2 separate regions of the Homo sapiens genome follow, and region 1 is linked to region 2. The links are contacts of gene promoters, found by promoter capture Hi-C in blood cells and fetal thymus (Javierre and others, 2016). All regions are on one chromosome and are shown on one strand. Each heading gives the region's core, a stretch centred on a gene start or on the middle of the fragment in contact. The rest is flanking DNA. Distances are from core to core; before and after follow the strand shown.

Region 1 (6,699 bases), core at 2,810-5,309, 240 kb after region 2:
TCCAGGTTCAAGCGATTCTCCTGCCTCAGCCTCTCGAGTAGCTGGGATTACAGGCTCCCACCACCATGCCTGGCTAATTTTTGTATTTTTAGTAGAGACTGGGTTTTGCCATGGTGGCCGGGCTGGTCTCGAAATCCTGACCTCAGGTGATCCACCCACCTTGGCCTCCCAAAGTGCTGGGATTACAGGCGTGAACCACTGAGTCTGGCCAGTTCTTTATTTTTAGTGGTTGCCCTAACAACCACTAAAAACAATCATATTATATGTGAGGCCATATAATATTAATTCAAAGTAACTGTGGAATGTTACAAATGTATTTAACATTACACATGTTACAAAAGTAACATTCCACAGTTACTTTGAATTAATGTTTTATGGCTTCACATATCATATGAAAGACTTACGTTATATTTTCATATACTCCTTCCCACTCTTAGTGTGTTGTCAATATACATTTTGTTTTACATGTAAAAACACCACAGTATATTGTTCTTAATTTTGCTTTTAATAGTAAACTGTCTTATAACAAATTATGAAAATGGAAAAAAACATGTCTTTCTTATTTGCCCTCATATTTATCCATTTAGGCACTCTTCCTTTTTCCCTTTCATTCCAGGTTTCTATCTTGCATCATTTCCCTTCAGCTTAAAGAACTTTGTTTAGCATTTCTTATAATGTGGGTGTTCTGGTGACAAATTCTCACTTTTATTGATCTAAACATTTCTTTATATTATCTTCCTATTTGAGGATCTTATTGGATAAAGAATTCTAGGTTGACTGCTTTTTCTTTAAGTAGTTTAAAAATGTTCCATTATCTTTTAGATTGTATTATCTGTGATGAGAAGGCAGGTGTTATTCTTTTTATGTGATGTATCTGTTTTATATCAACTTTTATCTGATGTGCATAGGTGTGATTTGTTGTTGTTGTTGTTGTTTTTTGAGACGGAGTCTTGCTCTGTCACCCAGGCAGGAGTGCAGTGGCATGATCTTGGCCCACTGCAACCTCCACCTCCTGGGTTCAAGCAATCCTCTCACATCAGCCTCTCAAGTAGCTAGGATAACAGATGTAAACTACCACACCCGCCTTATTTTATTTTATTTTATTTTTTATTTTGTGTATTTTTAGTAGAGATGGGGTTTCACCATGTTGGCCAGGCTGGTCTCAAACTCCTGACCTCAAGTGATCTGCCACCATAGCCTCCCAAAGTGCTGGGATTACAGGCATGAGCCACTGTGCCTTGCTGTGATTTTTGAGTTTATCCTTTTTGGGGTTTGCTGAGCTTCTTGGATCTGTGGGTTGATTTTTTTTCCTATTAGTTTGGAAAATCTTCAGCCATTATTTTTCAAATATTTTTTCTACCTATTCCCTCTTCTGAGATTGCTCTTTCTCCCTCCCTGCTTCCCTTCCTCCCTTCCTCCCTCCTTTCCTCCCTCCCTCCCTTCCTTCCTTCCTTCCCTTCCTCCCTCCCTCCATCCCTCCCTCCCTCCTTTCTTCCTCCCTCCCTCCCTCCCTCCCACCACTACCTCTCAGGCTTAAGTGATCCTCCTGCCTCAGCCTCCTGAGCAGCTGGGGCTACAAGTGTGCGCCACCATGCCTGGCTAATTTTTGTATTTTTTTTTGTAGAGACAGGGTCTTCCTATGTTGCCTAGGCTGGTCTCAAACTCTTGAGCTCAAGCAGTCCTCCTGCCTTGGCCTTCCAAAGTGCTAGGATTACAGGCAGGAGCCATCCCACCTAGCCCTGAGATTCTAATTACATGTATAATAGACCACTTGATATTATCCCACAGATTTTTTTCTCTTGGTACTCTAGTTTGAATAATATTTATTGACCCATCTTAAGTTTCACTGATCTTATCTCATCATGGTCTAATCTACTTTAAGCCCATCCAATGAATTTTTAGATATTGTCTTTTTCACTTGTAGAATTTTCATTTACAGTTGATTTTTTTTTTTTTTTTTTAAGATGGAGTCTTGCTCTGTCACCAGGCTGGAGTGCAGTGGCGAGATCTCGGCTCACTGCAACCTCCGCCTCCCGGGTTCAAGTGATTCTTCTGCCTCAGCCTTCCGAGTAGCTGGGACTACAGGCATGCACCACCATGCCCAGCTAATTTTTGTATTTTTAGTAGAGACAGGGTTTCACCATGTTGGCCAGGATGGTCTTGATATCTTGACCTCATGATCCGCCCGCATCAGCCTCCCAAAGTGCTGGGATTACAGGCATGAGCCACTGCGCCCGGCCTACAGTTGATTCTTGAGCAGCGCAGGTTTGAACTGTGCAGGTCCACTTCTATATAGACTTTTTTCAATAAATATATTGAAACATTTTTTGGAGATTTGTGACAATTTGAAAAAACTTGCAGATGGACCATGTAGCCTAGGAGTATCAAAAAAATTAAGAAAAAGTTAGGTATGTTATGAATACATAAAATATATGTAGGTACTAGTCTATTTTATCATTTACTACCATAAGAGATACACGTATCTATTATAAAAAGTTAAAAATTTTCAAAGCTTATGTGCACAGACTATTCATGGTGCCATTCTCAGTTGAGAGAAATGTAAACAAATGTAAAGATGCAGTATTAAATCACTACTGCATAAAATAAACTATAGTACACCTAGTGTATTAGTATGATAATTTTATAGCTATCTCCTGTGGCTATTGTAGTGCGCTCAGGTGTTTCAAGTATTTACTTAAAATTCAGTGTGATGCTAAGCATCTCTGCATTAGCACTTCATCTCTCCGGTAAATTGCATATCACAGTAAAAAGTGATCTCTCAGGCCGGGCGCGGTGGCTCACGCCTGTAATCCCAGCACTTCAGGAGGCTGAGGTGGGCGAATCACCTGAGGCCAGGAGTTCGAGACCAGTCTGACCAACATGGTGAAACCCGGTCTCTACTAAAAATACAAAAATTAGCTGGGCGTGGTGGCGTGCGCCTGTAATACCAGCTACCTGGGAGGCTGAGGCAGGAGAATCACTTGAACCCGGGAGGTGGCAGTGAGCTGAGCTCGCACCACTGCACTCCAGCCTGGACAACAGGGTGAGACTCTGTCTCAAAAAAAAAAAAAAAAAAGTGATCTCTAAGCCGGGCACGGTGTCTCATGCCTGTAATGCGAACACTTTGAGGGGCCAAGGCAGGAGTGCATGTGTATATACATACATACATGTGTGTGTTTTGTATGTATACACACACACACACACACATAGTTTATTCATGTGTTTTGATTTGTTCTATTTCCAAACCCTTTCGTCTCTCTGGTGGTTAAGGTGAGGGGCTCCTCCTAGAGCTGTGGCTGAGCTCTGGCTATCATGCAGCTTTAATTTGATTGAGTATACTTCTGATTAGCCCATGCCACAATTGCTGAGGGCTTTTCTTTTTATCTTTTTGGCATTTGAGCTTAGGAAGGGATTAGACTACAGTTCCAGACAGTTTTGTTCATTTTTGCATTAAACTCCAGCAGGGCCTCAGAATTCAAGTTCAGTAAGAATGCACAGGTCTTTGTGACAATAAGTGCGTGAGGTGGTGGGGGAACCCCTATCCCACCCTGTTCCTCATCTCCACCTCTCTTGATTTCATTTCTTTCCACTCTCTCATCAACCAGCCTACCTCCAGCCATGCTGTTCACTTTCCTGTTCCTCAAGCCAAGGACACTGTCACCTTAGGTCCTTTGCACCTGCCCAGGATGCTCTTCTCTCAGATTTCCATGTGGTTCTTCCCTTTACTGAATTTATGTCTCCGGTCAAACATCACCCTTTTAGAGAGTCTTCCCCAACCACTTTACATAAAAGATCATCCTACCCTCACTGTGGTTCTCCCAATGTCTCTTATCCTGCTTAATTTTTTTCTAAGGTATGTATCACCATCTGTCTTTCTATATATTACATTATTTATAGTAATCTCCAGATTAGAGATCCAGACAGACTACAGTTCCAGACAGTTTTGTTGATCAGATTTGGAGATCAGAGGATCTCCAAACAGATCCAGAGAAGGCTCCTGATAAAAGTAAGTTTAGAATCTCTCAGAATTTAGAATACTGTCAGAACTCCTTGGAACTTAACAGAGGTGGTCTCCGGCTAAAAATGAATGTATTTGATGTTCTAGGAATTGTTGACTTTCAAGGACATATCTATTGACTTCACCCAGGAAGAGTGGGGGCAGCTGGCTCCTGCTCACCAGAATCTATACCGAGAGGTGATGCTGGAGAACTACAGCAACTTGGTGTCAGTGGGTAAGACTTGGCTATCCATGCATCCAGAAACCCACCCATTACAGGAGAGTCATTATTTTAAATTATTGATGTGTAGATTCCTTGAGGCTTGATTTGGGTTCTGTATTAAAGATGTCTTATTCCCTTTGAAAACCAAGTGAGGGCATATCCAATTTGACTTTCTTGGGGAACAACTTTACTACACATAGTTAGGATAGAAAGACCCACCCCTTTCCACTTGTGGAGACCCTGAATACCAGAAGACTCAAAATTCTGAGGATGGTTCTTAGACATCAGCATAAACATTCACACTGTTTTTTTTACTACATAAGCAGGATATCAACTTTCCAAACCTAGTGTGATATCCCAGTTAGAGAAAGGAGAAGAGCCATGGATGGCAGAGAAAGAAGGCCCAGGAGATCCCAGTTCAGGTGAGACCAAGTGTGTTAGTCTGTTTTTGTGTTGCTATAAAGGAATACCTGAAACTTCATAATTTATAAAGAAAAGAAGTTTAATTGGCTAATGATTCTGCAGGCTGTACAGGAAGCATGGCACTGGCATCTGCTCCTGGTGAGGGCCTCAGGAAACTTACAATCATGGTGAAAGGCATATCACATGGTGGGAGCTGGAGCATGAGAGTGAAGGAGGAGGTGCCAGGCTCTTTTTCTTTTTCTTTTTTTTTTTTTTTTTTTTTTGAGACAGAGTCTCGCACTGTCGCCAGGCTGGAGTGCAGTGGCGCAATCTTGGCTCACTGCAACCTCCGCCTCTGGAGTTCAAGCGATTCTCCTGCCTCAGCCTCCCGAGTAGCTGGGACTACAGTTATGCGCCACCACGCTCAGCTAATTTTTGTATTTTTAGTAGAGACAGGGTTTCACCATGTTGGCCAGGATGGTCTTGATCTCGACCTTGTGATCTGCCCACCTCGGCCTTCCAAGGTGCTGGGATTTCAGGTGTGAGCCACTGCGCCAGGCTGGTGCCAGGCTTTTTAAACAACCAGATCTCATGTGAACTCAGAGTGAGAACTCATTACCATGGGGAGGACACTCATTCATGAGTGATCCACCCCCATGACCCAACACTTCCCACCAGGCCCCACCTGCAACACTGGGGATCACATTTCAACATGAGATTTGGAGGGGATAAATATTCAAACCAAATCACCAAGGCAGATGGAATTTTAATATGTAGGTCAGAGTGCTCAAAGCCTCGGCTGTGGGGAGGGCTCAGACCACTGGACAGAGCCTCCACTAAACTAATATCACCCGTCCCTTCCTTACCCCTTTCCTTCACTGAGCCCTTGCAAAAGTCCCCTGGAGTTGGAGGAAAGAGCAGTCTTGTCCTCATTAAGGTTGAGCTGGATTTTCCCTTTCTCCAGTATCCTAAGGGCTGCCAATCTAAAGCTTTCTCTAAGCAGTCAAATGTATGTGGTATTTTCACAGAAAACCAATCTCTTTCCAAGACTCCCATTGCATTCTACAAATCTTTAATTTTCCTGCACTCCATTTTTACTTCTTGCCAATGTTCATTTTACAATTCCAGCTTCGATTCTCATTCTCTTTTTAACTTATGTATCTTTTTTGTAACAGCTACTTATGAAAACTCCTGTAAGAGAAATTACCAAAGGATTCCTTCTCAACCAAATGTCGGGGTCCCTAACAATCTCCTCAAACTTTGCTTTTTATTCTGAAATATTTTAGACACTCAGAAAGGCATAGAAAACATTATAACACATTTCTGTGTAGCTTCCACCTAGACTAAGAAATGAAACACAGTTGAAGCTCCACTGTCCCCCTTACACCTTTTGAAATAAGCACTCTGCATTGAAATATTATTCCCATGTCTTCGTGCTTTTATTACATGTATAATGTAGTAAAAGCAGTCTATATATCAGTGTATACATACTAAACAATATATAGCATTGTTTTGCATGTTCTCTTTCTTTAAATAAATGGTATATATACTTCTTCCTTTTGCTTTTCTCATTCAACACTGGTGATATTCCTCAGTATGTTATTCTAGTTCATTCAATCCATTGAGTTAATAAACCACAATGTTCTTATTCATTTTCCTGTTGATAGACATTTACATTGTTTCCAAATTTGGGAGTTACAAAGATGCTACAGCAAACCTTTGTGTACATAACTTCTTGTATACATAATGCAAGTGTTTCTCTAAGATAGCTGGTAGAAGCAAAATTGTTGGGTTGTAGAATATATGCACTTTCATTTTGCTAGGTATTACCAATTTGCTCTTCAAAGCAGTTACACCAGGTTATTCTCCCATTAACAGGGTTTGAGAGTTTCCATAACTCAGCATCTTTGTCAACATTTGTTATTGTCAAACTTTAAGATTTTTGTAAATTCACTGGGTTATGGTATCTTGTTTCTTTCATTTTCCTGATTACCAGTGAAAGGAAGTATATTTCTCATGTTCATTGACCATCCATCCATCTCTTCTTCTGTCCTTACTCTAATGCCAGGCTCTTCTG
Region 2 (6,771 bases), core at 579-3,078:
TAATCCCAGCACTTTAGGAGGGCAAGGTAGGAGGATCACCTGAGATCAGGAGTTCGAGACCAATCTGGCCAATATGGTGAAACCCCATTTCTACTAAAAATGCAGAGATCAGCCAGGCGTGGCACGTGCCTGTAGTCCCAGCCACTCAGGAGGCTGAGGCAGGAGAATCGCTTGAACCCAGGAGGCAGAGGTTGCAATGAGCTGAGATCGCACCACTGCACTCCAGCCTGGGCAACAGAGCGAGACCCTGTCTCAAAAAAAAAAAAAAAAAGAATTTACCAAAGGCTTGAAAGTAGGCATTGCCTAAGTCAGTAAGTCCTAATAGGGCATGATATGGAAGACTACTGAGTGGAAGTGACTGACAGATGAGTGGGTGGATGCCACTATTAAAGGTAAACTGAAGGCCGAGTGTGGTGGTTCACGCCTGTAATCCCAGCACTTTGGGAGGCCTAGGCGGGTGGATCACGAGGTCAGGAGTTCGAGACCAGCCTAACCAACATGGTAAAGCCCCGTCTCTACTAAAAATAAAAAAATTAGCCAGGCGTGGTGGCACATGCCTGTAATCCCAGCTACTCAGGAGGCTGAGCCAGGAGAATCGCTTGAACCCCAGAGGCAGAGGTTGCAGTGAGCCAAGATTGCGCCACTGCACTCCAGCCTGGGAGACAGGGCGAGACCAAAACCCCGCCTCAAAAAAAAAAAAAAAAAAAAAAAAAAAAAAAAAAAAAAGCCCTGTTTATATCCTACCTCCTTGCTGGGTGCAGTGGCTCATGCCTGTAATCTCTGCACTTTGGGAGGCCAGGGCAGGTGGATCACTTGAGGTCAGGCATTCTAGACCAGCCTGGCCAAAATGGTGAAACCCCATCTCTACTAAAAATACAAAAAATTAGCCAGGCGTGGTGGCGGGCGCCTGTAATCCCAGCTACTCAGGAGGCTGAGGCAGGAGAATCGCTTGAACCTAGGAGGCATAGGTTGCAGTGAGCTGAGATCGCACCACTGCACTCCAGCCTGGGCGACAGAGTGACACGCCAGCTCAAAAAAATAAAAATAAAAAATCCCATCTCCTCACATTTCCATTCAACCTCAATACAACTCAGTTTTTTTTATTATGTGAAAACAGCTGCAACAGCTGCTGTCCATTTGAATTGTTGGAAATGTAGATCTACACTAACCAAGAGAGAAGCCACTAGCCACAGGTGGCTATTTAACTTTTTTTTTTTTTTTTTTAGATGGAGTCTCGTTCTGTCACCAAGGCTGGAGCACAACATCAGCTCACTGCAACCTCTGCCTCCCAGGTTCAAGTGATTCTCCTGCTTCAGCCTCCCAAGTAGCTGGGACTACAGGTGTGCACCACCACGTCAGGCTAATTTTTGTATTTTTAGTAGAGACAAGATTTCACCATGTTGGCCAGGCTGGTCTCGAACTCCTGGGCTCAAGTGATCCACCTGCCTCAGCCTCCCAAAGTGCTGGGATTACAGGCGTGAGCCACCATGCCCAGCCAAATTTAGTTAAAATGTAAAATGCAATCTCTGCTGCACTATTCACATTTCAGGTAACTAGTGGTTACCATATTGGACATGGCAGATAAAGAACATTTTCATTATTGCAAAAAGTTGTACTGGACAGCACTATGCTAGAGCCAGAACTAGCCAAAGATCAGACAAAGCAATATGAATGAACTGAAAACCCAGGCCGGTGCCTGGTTGGTTTTGAGTAAGATTCATTGGTTGGGTGAGTGGGAAGCAAGCTGACCTTTGGAACAGTGACATCACAAAGCACAGCTCACAATGGCTCTGGAATACCTAGGCCTCCAGACTACTCCCCCTAACTCATATTTAGATTCCTGAAGCTTCTGCACATGTAGTTCCTAGAGCTGCTGCTTATTAAAATGTCAACATCTTCATCTTCTAGCTGGGACAACCTCTTAGAGTCTCTCTCTCTCAGCACAGTATGGAATTGGATACAAGCAAGTTTTTTGGGAGAGACTAGTGCACCTCAGCAAACAAGTTTGGGACTATTAGATAATCTTGCTCCAGCTGTGCAAATCATCTTGAGGATTTCTTTCTTGATTTTATTGGGAATAGGAATATATGCCTTATGGAAACGAAGTATTCAGTCAATTCAGGTTATACTCTTTTGTTACAAACATTTATATAGTTATAAATTGAAATTTGATTAGTTCTCTCCCATATTGCTGCCACCAGTTTTAAGATCATGCAGATGTGCAAAGGCGAACCTTTGTCTCTTAAGTTGGCAAAAACTAGGTTATCCTTGAAAATCTCCACCAATTAGGCTTTGGGCATAAAAATGCTTTTCTCACAATGGTCTTTGGCTTGTCTTCTGTAATAAAATAGACCAAACATGTTGGTAACCTGAAAAGACAGCCTTACCCTCAAAAATTTTTGATCACTTATTCATCTTTGAGTGCTACTATGTTTATACAATAGGCACCAAAGTAGCTAGGATCATGAGTATGGCCTTTCTTACTATGCCATTGTTCTGTAACTGATAAGGAGGCATATGTATTAAGTCATCACAATGTGTTCATTATTGTGTTTTGACAAGATAAGGCTCCATAAGTATATAGGAGCTCTTTGGGGAGTAGGAATTTAACTGGCTGGGATTGTGAGAGACAGGATTTTACATACTTCTGTGTAGTCACCAATAATAATAGTTGACATACAATATAGTTGAATGCTTTGAGAATCTCAAAAATTCCATGAAATGGATGGAGATTATTTTCACATGACAAGTGAAGAAACTGAGGTGCACTGAGGTTCAGTGGAAACTTAAGGTGACAGGCTTTTAAAACGGCTTTCTTAGAGTGACAAGTTTACTTGATAAATGCAGAGAGAAGTTGTTATTGGATCATTTTTTAGCATTCACTTATTTTCATATGTCACTATTGTTTAGTAATCATGGTCACGGGGCCTTTCTATTTTAAACCATCACAATCCTGCATAACAGTCAGGGAGAGATTATTTGCTCCATTTTGTAGATGAGAGAACTTGATTGCTACCCACCCAAGTTCACATAGTTTGTAAGAGCTGGCAAAATTGGAGTTTGAATCGAATTTTTAGGATTTGAAATTCAGTTCTTCTCCAAAATCTCATTTAATGCAAACCAACTGACCTAAATCTTGAACAGGAATGTGTGTGTGTGTGTGTGTGTGTGTGTGTGTGTGTGTGTGTGTGTGTACGCGCATGCGCATATATATGTGTATTGTGAGGATTAAAGAAGATATTGTATGTGTAAATCTTAGCACATATATTCAATAAGTGGTGCTACAGTGAAACCCCATCTCTACTTAAAATACAAAAATTAGCCGGGTGTGGTGGTGGCACGCGCCTGTAGTCCCAGCTACTCAGGAGGCTGAGGCAGAAGAATTGCTTGAACCCGGGAGGTGGAGGTTGCAGTGAGCCAAGATCGTGCCACTGCACTCCAGCCTGGGCGACAAAGACTGTGTCTCAAAAAAAAAAAAAGTGGTGCTAGTTGTTATAATAAGGAACAAGATGATTTTTTTTCTTATCCTAGCAAGAATCTGTCCTACTATACATATTCTTTTGTTATTTATTTATTTATTTTGAGATGAAGTCTTGCTCTTGTCCCCTAGTCTGGAGTGCAATGGTGCAATTTCGGCTCACTGCAACCTCTGCCTCCCAGGTTCAAGCAATTCTCCTGCCTCACCCTCCCGAGTAGCTGGGATTACAGGCGCATACCACCACACCCAGCTAATGTTTTGTATTTTAAGTAGAGACAGGGTTTCACCATGTTGGCCAGGCTGGTCTCGAACTCCTGACCTCAGGTGATCCGCCCACCTTGGCCTCCCAAAGTGCTGGGATTACAGGCATGAGCCACCGTGCCCAGCATATGCTTTATTTTTATTTTTTATTTTTTTTTTATGTTTTAGAGACAGTGTCTTGCTCTGTCGCCCAGGCTGGAGTGCAGTGGTGTCATCATAGCTCACTGCAGCCTCAAATTCCTGATCTCAGGTGATCCTCCTGCCTCAGCCTCCTGAGCAGTTGGAACCATAGGCATGCACCACCAGGCTTGGCTAATTTTAAAAATTTTTTTGTAGAGACAGGGTCTCGCTACGTTCACTATGTTGCTCAGGCTGGTCTTTAACTCCTGGCCTCATGCAATCCTCCCATCTCAGCCTCTCAAAGTGCTGGATGCAGTGGTCCACACCTATAATTTATTTTATATAAATAAAATATATATATATATACATTAATTTTTTTAAGAGACAGGGTCTGGCTATCTTGCCCAGGCTGAAGTGCAGTAGCCATTCACAGGTGCCATCATAGCACACTACTCCTGGGCTCAGGTGATCCTCCCACCTTACCCTCCCTAGTAGCTGGGACTATATGTGTGTGCCATTGTACCCAGATCTCTCCTAGTATATTTTAAAAACCTTTTCCATGACCAAGAAATCCAGTTTTTCAGACTACTATGTCCTAAAGTGTACTTGGAAGTGTGAATTTCTGGATTCCTGTCCTGGCTCTGCCACTTCCAATATATAACCTTGGACAATGACAGAGTTCAAACTAGAAGGTATATAGTTATCCAGTTGTGTTTTTTCTGCATAAATAGATCATGCAAAGGCAAAGTTACTTCCAGACATTCAGAAAATGGTTATCTATTATTACAATCTTGATTAAATGCAAATAATAATCCTGCCTGACCTGCCTACCTCTCCAGTTTGCAGTGAAAATCAAAAGATGAAATAGGTGTGAAAATATTTTGCTAAGGCCGGGCATGGTGGCTTACGCCTGTAATCCCAGCATTTTGGGAGGCCACGATGGGCGGATCACGAGGTCAGGAGATTGAGAACATCCTGGCTAACACGGTGAAACCTCGTCTCTATTAAAAATACAAAAAATTAGCCGGGCGTGGTGGTGGGCGCCTGTAGTCCCAACTACTCAGGAGGCTGAGGCAGGAGAATGGCGTGAACCTGGGAGGCGGAGCTTGTAGTAAGCTGAGATTGCGCCACAGCACTCCAGCCTGGGTGACAGAGTGAAACTCCATCTCAAAAAAAAAAAAAAAAAAAATTTGCTAAATGGGAGACTTGTTATTGGAATGAGGAATTATTGTTACTATTAGGTTTTTGTTTTGTTTTTCTCTTATAGATAGTAAACTGTAGCAACTAACACTCAACTTCTGTTGTTCCATTTTAGAAAACATTGTTGTTTGTAATCACACTCTACAAACTTTACAAGAAGGGCTCACATATTTTTGAGGCTTTGCTAGCCAACCCAGAAGGAAGTGGTCTCCGAATTCAAGACAATAATAATCTTTTCCTGTCCTTGGGTCTGCAAGAGAAAATTTTGAAAAAACTTAAGACAGTGGAAAACAAAATGAAGAACCTAGAAGGGATAATCGTTGCTCAAAAACCTGCCACGAAGAGGGATTGCTCCTCTGAGCCCTACTGCAGCTGCTCTGACTGCCAGAGTCCCTTGTCCACATCAGGGTTTACTTCCCCCATTTGAAATGTGATGGACTCCAATCTTTTCCAGGAAAGCACTGTTTCCCTCATGTGTGCAGTGGTGTATCAATAAAGATAGAGAACGCTATTGAAATTACCGTGCAAAGACTAGCTCTCTATTTAGTAGGGCTGAGCTTCTACTTGTATGGATGGTGGGGTATAGTGGGGTATAGTGGTAGTTAAAAATGTCTCTAGGATTGTGGTGTACACTCAGCAGGCTGGAGACCATAAGCTGCCATAGATGGGAGAGGATAGCTGGGCTGGAATCTAAGGCTGTAGGAAGAGAAGGGAGGGTGGTCAGGTACATGGCCTTGAGGTCCATGCTGACGAGGTTAGACTAAATATAATAAAAAGTAGGAAAGTGCTGTTTGAGGGCCCTGCAGTGGACTGTCCTTTAGAGGTAGGCTGACCCCTGTGCTGGTCTTTGGCCTAAAGGTATATATGCAGTCCAGGGGTCTCCTGCATTAATTACTCAAAAGTGGGCAAGGGTGGGAGTAGATACAGACTGACATAAAGGAGACTAATTTTATCCAACTTTTACTGATACCTACTCTATGCTAAGCATTGTGATAATCCCTAGGCATCTTTCCTGAGTGCTTCAGGAGCATTCAGTTTGGCTGGATGGACAAGTAATTTCAGATCAGGGAATTATAATACAGTGGGGTCATAACTTTTTTTTTTTTTTTTTTTTTTTTTGAGTCAGAGTCTCGCTTTGTAACCCAGGCTGGAATACAGTGGCAGGATCTCTTCTCACTGCAACCTCCGCCTCCTGGGTTCAAGTGATTCTACTGCCTCAGCCTCCCAAGTAGCTGGGATTACAGGTGTGCATCACCACGCCTTGCTAATTTTTGCATTGTTAGTAGAGACAGGGTTTCACCATGTTGGCCAGGCTGGTCTTGAACTCCTGGCCTCAAGTAATCCACCCACCCTGGCATAACCAAGTGCGGGGATTACAGGCATGAGCCACTGCACCTGGCCATAACATCTTGAACTGAAGAGAATTCTCCTTGGCAGGGAGGGAAGAATGTAGAGATTCCACTCAATGAGTATGTACCCTGAGAGAGAGAGATGGCCCGCCTGGGAGGTGGCAAAAAATGGTTCTCTCAGCAGGCCTCAGATTCCACCAACCTTATAGTGTGTGCATTTTTGCCCCAATAAATGAGATCATGGTCATCTGAAACACTGTGTAACTATCTGGCACCTAAATGAAATATTTCATACCCACAGAGGAGGTCTACAGAAAAAAAACATTTCATCTGGTATGCAGATAAAGTGATTTGTTGCCTTCC

The links. Contacts are between HindIII fragments. The CHiCAGO score rates a contact against its expected background, and 5 or more counts as called.
Region 1: a contact is called between a fragment that was not itself captured here and the fragment with the promoter of TMCO2 in region 2, in 1 of 17 cell types (naive B cells). The highest score is 5.1, in naive B cells.

What each region holds. Positions count from the first base shown.
Region 1 is chr1:40,484,983-40,491,681 of GRCh38, forward strand. It overlaps ZFP69 (ZFP69 zinc finger protein), which reads left to right. Exons shown (of 6, transcript NM_001320179.2): 4 at 4,106-4,232; 5 at 4,547-4,642. EXO5-DT (EXO5 divergent transcript) reads right to left here. Exons shown (of 2, transcript NR_187365.1): 2 at 6,043-6,699. Among named protein-coding and RNA genes, the nearest start is that of ZFP69, 11 kb to the left of the region's middle. The HindIII fragment of the contact is 3,099 bases long and covers 2,511-5,609 here.
Region 2 is chr1:40,246,109-40,252,879 of GRCh38, forward strand. It overlaps TMCO2 (transmembrane and coiled-coil domains 2), which reads left to right and starts at 1,829. Exons shown (of 2, transcript NM_001008740.4): 1 at 1,829-2,122; 2 at 5,175-5,576. The coding sequence starts at 1,886. The coding sequence ends at 5,486. The HindIII fragment of the contact is 2,069 bases long and covers 1-1,844 here.